Regions from separate parts of the Homo sapiens genome. Here region 2 is linked to region 1. The links are contacts of gene promoters, found by promoter capture Hi-C in blood cells and fetal thymus (Javierre and others, 2016). All regions are on one chromosome and are shown on one strand. The core of a region is centred on a gene start or on the middle of the fragment in contact, and the rest is flanking DNA. Distances in the headings are between cores, read along the strand shown.

Region 1 (3,839 bases), core at 998-3,497:
AACACTAAGATTTTCTCTACCACTGGGTCACGGGGTTTCCATCCCCTCTGATTTTCTTTTCCGGTGACTCTCTCTCCTTTTCACATGATGAGCTATTTCCTCCTGTGTTAGGTCTCAACCTTAGCATCATTTCCTCAAAGAGGACTTCCTAGGCTGCCTTATCAAAAGAAAGTCCCTTTTCACAATCAATTACTCTCTAGCCATCTAATATTTGAGCACCTATGACATGCTAGGTGCTGAGCCAGCTGTTGGGGTGCCAGTGGCTAAGGAGACGTAAGGCACCCACTCTCCTGTGTTTATGTTTAAAACTGTGGAGCTGACGTTTTCTCCATTCTTACCAATGAGACTGACTACTTGTAATATCAGCTATTGGGAGAGGCGGGTTCACAGCTCCTATCATGTTTCTGGATTGGTGTATTTTCCTTTAATACAGTAGTCCCCCCTTCTCTGCAGGGTCTATGTTCCAAGATCCCCGGTGGATATCTGAAACTGTGGATAGTACTGAACAATGTGGATACTGATTTTTTTAAATACATATCTAGGCCGGGTGTGGTGGCTCACACCTGTAATTCCAGCACTTTGGGAGGCCGAGGCAGGCAAATCACCTAAGGTCAGGAGTTTGAAACCAGCCTGGCCAACATGGTGAAACCCCGTTTCTACTAAAAATACAAAAATTAGCTGGGTGTGGTGGTGCGCACCTGTAATCCCAGCTACTGGGGAGGCTGAGGCATGAGAATTGCTTGAACCTGGGAGGTGGAGGTTGCAGTGAGCTGAGATCACACCACTGCACTCCAGCCTGTGTGACAGAATGAAGACTCCATCTCAAAATAGAAAAAAAATACATACCGATCTATGATAAAAGTTTAAATTATAAATTAGGTACAGTAAGAGATTAACAATAATAATGAAATAGAACAATTATAATACTATACTATCATAAACGGTATGTAAATGTGGTCTCTCTCTGTCTCAGAATATCTCAGTGTACTGTACTCATCTATTTTTGGCCATGATCAACCCAAACTTCAGAAAGCAAAACCTTGGATAAGGGGATGACTGTAGTCCAGCTCTGCTTTATTCATATTGAAGATGAGGTTTTGGATTACAATATCCTCCAGTGGGATTCACCCTTTGTTGCTGCGAAATGGCCTTTTAAAGTGTTTAACCTTCTTGCTTTAAATATAGCACTCCTGACATCACCATAGCTATACCAGCTGTCTTCTGCTGTTTCCATAGCATATGCTTTTCCACTATTTTACTTCCTACTTCTCTATGACTTCATTTAACGTTCACCTCATATAAGCAGTATTCAGTTAAGTTTTTAAAAAATAGGCCCATATGGGCTGGGCACAGTGGCTCACACCTGCAATCCCAGCACTTTGGGGGGCCAAGGCAGGCGGATTACCTGAGGTCAGTAGTTCGAGACCAGCCTGGCCAACATGGTGAAACCCCGTCTCTACTAAAAATAAAAAAAAATTACCCAGGCATGGTGGTGGGTGCCTGTAATCCCAGCTACTCAGGAGGCTGAGGCAGGAGAATCACCTGTACCTGGGAGGCGGGGTTTGCAGTGAGCCGAGATTGTGCCATTGCACTTCAGCCTGGGCAAGAAGAGCGAAACCCCATCTCAGAAAAATAAAATTAAAAAAATGCCCGTATGACAGTCTTTGCCTTTGGGTTAGATCCATTATCTTCCTCCACTGTTTGCTTTCTTGCTCAGAAGGCCAATAAGTGATAGGGGTGGTGACTAGAGTAGTTTAGCTGCCCAGCAGCCAAGCCCACCCCCACTTTATCCACCAGATCAACACTCACCATTTATCTCTCTGCGGACTACAACACACATTTTATCACAGTTCATAATGGCAAAGATGTTCGAAGTCACATCCCAAGCGCGTCGTCCAGGGAAACGCTCTATCAAGAGATGAACCACCTCTGCCCAGCTGGCTGTCTCGACCTGGTCCCAGGTGATGGGCATGGTGCCAGTACTGAGCTCAGTCAGTAAGAGCTGCTTGAACCGTTGTAGCTCCTCATGGCTCACGTTTCTCATGTACAGCATGACCCCATTTTCACATGGGGAGCCGGGGTAGCAAGAGAATGTCCAGGGCGGAATATGAGAACTGTGAGTGGAGGAGGATGAAAAGGGAATGGGGGTGTCAGAGGGTGGATTCACGTCACTCATCTTTAGTCAAGGCAGAGAACACCTCAGTGTCCACGATAAAGACAACCGATTGGAAGAGAGAAACACGAGACCTGCAGAGACATAAAACAATAAAACAAGAAGATGAAAACACTACCCAAGAAAACAGATTCGTGTAATGCTTACTTGGCAGGTATTCTGCGTGCCGGGTACTCCCTTTACCTCCTTTCCTCAAAGATTCTCTGCCCTATGGAAAAACTGAAGATGCATGGAATGTTTGGGATTAGTCCATTAGACTAATGGATTGTTTGTAGTTTCTATTCTCCATGACTTCTTTTGGGGAAGAGGCAAGCAAAATATCAAAGCCTTCACAAAAGGTTTAGCGAAAAGAAAAATTAGAAGCAGGTAAAATAATTCAGTGAAGCTAAAATCTAGAAAATATATGGTTGGTTAGAAGGCTCCATTAGATTAAAAGTGATCTCAAATTCAACAAAGTTTTTATTCTTAAAAAAATGGATCATGTATTAGAGAGATGCAAATCAAAACCACAACGAGATGTCATCTCACACCAGTCAGAATGGTGATTATTAAAAAGTCAAGCAATAACAGATGCTGTATTCTTAAAAAATGGATCATGTATTAGAGAGATGCAAATCAAAACCACAACGAGATGTCATCTCACACCAGTCAGAATGGTGATTATTAAAAAGTCAAGCAATAACAGATGCTGGTGAAGTCGCAGAGAAAAAGGAACACTTATACTCTGTGTGTGGGAGTGTAAATTAGTTCAACTACTCTGGATGACAGTGGGGCAACTCCTCAAAGACCTAAAAAGAGAACTACCATTCAACTCAGCAATCCCATTACTGGATATATATCCAAAGGAATATAAATCATTCTATTATAAAGACACATTCCTGTGTATGTTCATTGCAGCACTACTCACAATAGCAAAGTCATGGAATCAACCTAAATGCCCATCAGTGATAGACCGGATAAAAAAATGTGGTACATAAACACCATGGAATACTATGCAGCCATAAAAAAGAATGAGATCATGACCTTTGCAGGAACATAGATGGAGCCAGAGACCATTATTCCTTAGCAAACTAACACAGGAACAGGAAACCAAATACCACATGTGCTCATTTATAAGTGGTAGCTAAACGATGAGAACACATGGACACATAGAGGGAACACCACACACTGGAGTCTGCTAGAGGCTGGAGGGTGGGAGGAGGGAGAAGATCAGGAAAAATAACTAATGGGTACTGGGATTAATACCTGGGTGATGAGATAACCTGTACAACAAACCCACCCCCATAACACGTTTGCCTATATAACAAACCTGCACATGTACCCCTGTATCTAAAAGAAATGTAAAAAAGAAATAAAATAAAAAGGATCATGGGTGTATTTTTGTCCCCCCTGCCCCAACTTCCAATAATAGTTTATTTATTTATTATTTATTTATTTACTTAGAGACAGAGTCTCACTCTGTTTCCCAGGCTGGAGTGCAGTGGTGTGATCTCGGCTCACTGCAACCTCCACTTCCCTGGTTCAAGCAATTCCCTTGCCTCAGCCCCCTGAGTAGCTGGGATTACAGGCACCTGCCACCATGCCTGGCTAATTTTTTTGTATTTTTAGTATAGATGGGGTTTCACTATGTTGGCCAGGCTGGTCTCAAACTCCTGACCTCAAGTGA
Region 2 (4,060 bases), core at 75-2,574, 120 kb after region 1:
ATATGAAAATTTCTATTGGGATTTTATTGTTTTACTGAATATAAAGGTCTATTTGGGAGCATATTAACATCTTCATAATAATAATTCCTGTACAAGAATGTAATGTTATCCTTCATTTTTAAGGATTTTGTATATGGCAATAACATTGTATATCATTCAATAAGATTTACAATCTCTTATAAGAATTATTTCTAGTTTATATTTTTCTTGGAACTGCATGTGGCATCCTTTAAAATTTTAAATTCCAATTAGTTTTTTTTTAGAGAAACACAATCAGATTTGTATGTTGATTTATATTCACCAAAGCTGCTTTGAATCCTAACAATTTATCAATAGATTTAAGGGGAGAGAGTTTGCATGGATATTCAAATTATCTCCAATATGATAATTTCGCCTCTTTCTTTCAGATCCGTTTTCTTGTCCCAGTGAACAGGTGCACTATGTTGAAATAAGAGTGGTGACGGAGGCCTTGTTTATCTTGTATCTTATTGTAAAAGGTATTCTTTCATCACTTTCCCGTCCATTATGAGATTTTTGTTTGCTCTTGCTTTTTTGGAACCCTTTACTGGGTGAAGGAAATTCTTTTATTTCCTAACTTACAAAGATACATCTAAAACCATGAATAGATATAGACTCTTTTATATTTCCCCTTTTGCACCTATGAAGATGCCCCTATTCTTCTGTAATCTGTTCAATATGAGGAGCTCTATCAGTCATACCCAGAGCATACTCCCTCCTGACTAAAGCAGATACCTGCGCATAGGACTGAGCTATCAGTCTTCACTAGAGGTCTCCAGGTGATTCCAATAGGCAGCCAAGACGGGCCCCCCGGGTGGAGGATCTAGGACGTGCCTCCGCAAATTCTATCACCTGTTAAACATGCCTTTGGTTGCATTTGTTCCACAAATATTTATGGCCTCCCTCAGATTTGAAAGGATCCTTGCCAGGTGGTTATGTAGACTAGACAGCGTATTCCCCTCATGGAGCTTACTGTATAGATGGTTATCCGAAATTGAGATTATTGGTGGAAAACTTCTTTCCCCCGGCACTGCCTAAGTCAATTGTTTTGGAGGTTCTTGGTCAGATGCCCCATGAGCTCCAACATCATAAACGGGGTGTGGACCGTCTCCTAATCAGCAGACCCTGTTTAGTCCTGGGTGAAGAAAGACAATTGGGGCATCTGGGCAGAAACACGCAGGTGCAGCAGTATTTCCCCTCCATCGCGAAGGTCATCAAGAACCCACCTTGGCCAATCAAGAGAGGAGTCAGCTGGCTAATCACCGGGCAGGCACCGCCTTTTTCTTCCCGCTGCCTAGCTTGTTTGCTTTCGACCAGCCAAGGAGACCTGGTGGCAGGGTTGGTGAGTTACCTTTCTGGCCGATTTGTTTGTTTGGATTTTAAGGTCTTTTTTTATTATGTTACATTGGTTCTTTAGCTTTCTCTTTGGTTAGGAGCTGGAAATAATATGATTGGGGAATAAAATGACTAAAGTTCCTAAGGGCAGGCCAAGCTCTGTTACCTTTTTCAAGTTCACATGAGTAAATTTGGGTCATGCTTTTTTTTTTTTTGATAAACTTATTTAAGTTGACAGATAAAATTGCATGTAGTGTGTGCAGCATGATGTTTTGAAGTGTATGTGCACTGTGGGTGGAGTGTTTAAACCTAACTAACTCGTCATCATAGCCTTATGGATGCTATTCTTCTATGTGATGTATAAAGTGTTAGAGATGAAAAGAATATTTTTATTTATTTATTTATTTTGAGACGGAGTCTCGCTCTGTCGCCAAGGCTGGCGTGCAGTGGTGTGATCTCAGCGCACTGCAACCTCTGTCTCCTGGGTTCAAGTGACTCTCCCACCTCAGACTCCCAAGTAGCAGGAATGACAGGCACACGCCAGCATACGTAGCTAATTTTTGTATTTTTAGTAGAGATGGGGTTTCGCCATGTTGTCTAGGCTGGTCTCGAACTCCTGACCTCAAGTAATGTGCCCACCTTGACCTCCCAAAGTGCTGGGATTACAGGCGTGAGCTCCTGCACCCGGTCCTGAGCTCTATTTTAATGTTAATGCCCGTCAGTTGTGCCTAGGCTCCGAAAGGAAGGAGATAGGAGGAGGTTTGACCTCCCTTCCTGCCATAGTCAATGATTCTGTTTTTCAAGTATCTTGGCCAGGAGGGGGTCCGCTCAGTTGGTTGTGGGCGGGGGGGTGGGGGGGATGGGGGGGGTGGGGCGGTGGGTCTTAACATGTTATTTTTAGTTTACAAATTGATTCTTAACTTTGAGTGCTGAATTTACAGGGGGGATTGGAACAATATACTGGTTCCTGGGCCCAACCTCCAAAGTCTCTAATCAGTGTCTGTATTTCGGGACACTGGGGTTTTTGATAACTCCCCAGGTGATTCCCCTGTGTCTCAGTGCTTGAGAAAGTCTGGTCACAGGTGCTTGAAGTGCCCAACTGTGCGGTGATCAGCTAATCTGATGCAACGCCGACTTGGGACGTGCAATGCTGTAGTGTCAGCTTTTTTGCAGGTGTTGGAGATCACCTCATAGTTCAGTTGGCACCTTATAGTTCAGTCAACAGCAAATTCCAGCAACCAACTTAAAAAGCATTGCAGTGTGGTCAGATGAGTGTACAAAAGGTTGGTGTAAAAAAAGTATTTTGCCCTTTGGGAAAAGTAATAAGAGCTTTTAACACACACTCAACGTTGCATTTTTTTTTTTTTTTTTAGGAAGCTAAGAAGCCATCACTAGGCAAAAAGCTTATGGAATTTTCCTTGAATGATCCTATGTCACAGTATGAAATCAGAAACACCTAAAGACTGAGAGGGTCATGATTAAATATTTCTGGTGCATTATTACCAAACCACTTAAAAATCATACCTTAAAGAACACAAGCAAAGCTCATACAACAGTGTTTAGGGAAATATGGACTGTTTGAGTCTAAAGGTAACTACTTTATTAGACAAACATATCACTAGAAAGAAATACAGTTGACTCCTGAACTCGGAAGTCTCTCAGTTACAAGGATGGGGCTCAAAGGCAATGGTGAAATAGAAGTCAAAGGAGGGAAGAGTTTGGGAATTTGGGGAAGGGTTGGACTTGGTGAGGCTTAACTTACTAATCCCTAATCTACTTGTGTTCACTTAGGGGGGAAAAACACCTAGATACAAGATTTAAAAGAAGAAAACACTTGTGTTAAACAGATTTACAGTGGACCCTTGAACAATACAGGTTTGAGCTGCATGTGTCCACTTATACATGAAGTTTCAAAAATAAATATATTGGAGAATTTTGGGGGAGATGTATGACAACTTGTAGATGAACCAGGCAGCCTAGAAATACTTAAAAAATTAAAGTCAGATATGTCATGAATGCAATCAATATAGATGTGAGTCTACTTATGTGTTAATTGACTGTTGATAAGGCTTCTGGTCAATAGTAGGCTATGAGTGTTGGAAGTCAAAAGTTATACGTGGGTTTTTGACTGCCTAGGGGCTGGCAGCATTGACTTTTGAGTTCAGGAGTCAACTGTATTTCCCTCTAATATGTTTAAGAAAGTGGAGTTACCTTTAGACTCAAACAGTTCATACTTCTGTAAACGCTGTTTTATGAGCTTTTTCTTGTGTTCTTTAAAGTACGATTTTTTTTTTTTTTTTTTTTTTTTTTTGAGACGGAGTCTCGCCCAGGCTGGAGTGCAGTGGCGCCATCTCGGCTCACTGCAACCTCCACTTCTGAGGTTCAAGCGATTCTCCTGCCTCAGCCTTCTGAGTAGCTGGGACTACAGGCGCGTGCCACCACGCCCGGCTAATTTTTTGTACTTTTAGTAGAGACAAGGCTTCACTGTGTTAGCCAGGATAGGGGTCTCGATCTCCTGACCTCGTGATCTGCCCTCCTCGGCCTCCCAAAGTGCTGGGATTACAGGCATGAGCCACCCTGCCCAGCCTAAAGTATGATTTTTTAAGTGGGTTGATAATACATAATAATGCACCGGAAATATCTAATCATGTCCTTGTCAGACTTCAGGTGTTTCTGATTTTATACTATTGTATAGGATGATTTAAAG

What was found. Contacts are between HindIII fragments. The CHiCAGO score rates a contact against its expected background, and 5 or more counts as called.
Region 2: a contact is called between the fragment with the promoter of NLRP11 here and the fragment with the promoter of NLRP8 in region 1, in 1 of 17 cell types (erythroblasts). The highest score is 5.4, in erythroblasts.

The regions. Positions count from the first base shown.
Region 1 is chr19:55,946,240-55,950,078 of GRCh38, reverse strand. It overlaps NLRP8 (NLR family pyrin domain containing 8), which reads right to left and starts at 2,247. Exons shown (of 10, transcript NM_001433706.1): 1 at 1,810-2,247. The coding sequence starts at 2,176. The HindIII fragment of the contact is 8,931 bases long and covers 1-3,839 here.
Region 2 is chr19:55,829,263-55,833,322 of GRCh38, reverse strand. NLRP11 (NLR family pyrin domain containing 11) reads left to right here and starts at 1,324. Exons shown (of 10, transcript NM_001394894.2): 1 at 1,324-1,360. The HindIII fragment of the contact is 8,930 bases long and covers 1-2,758 here.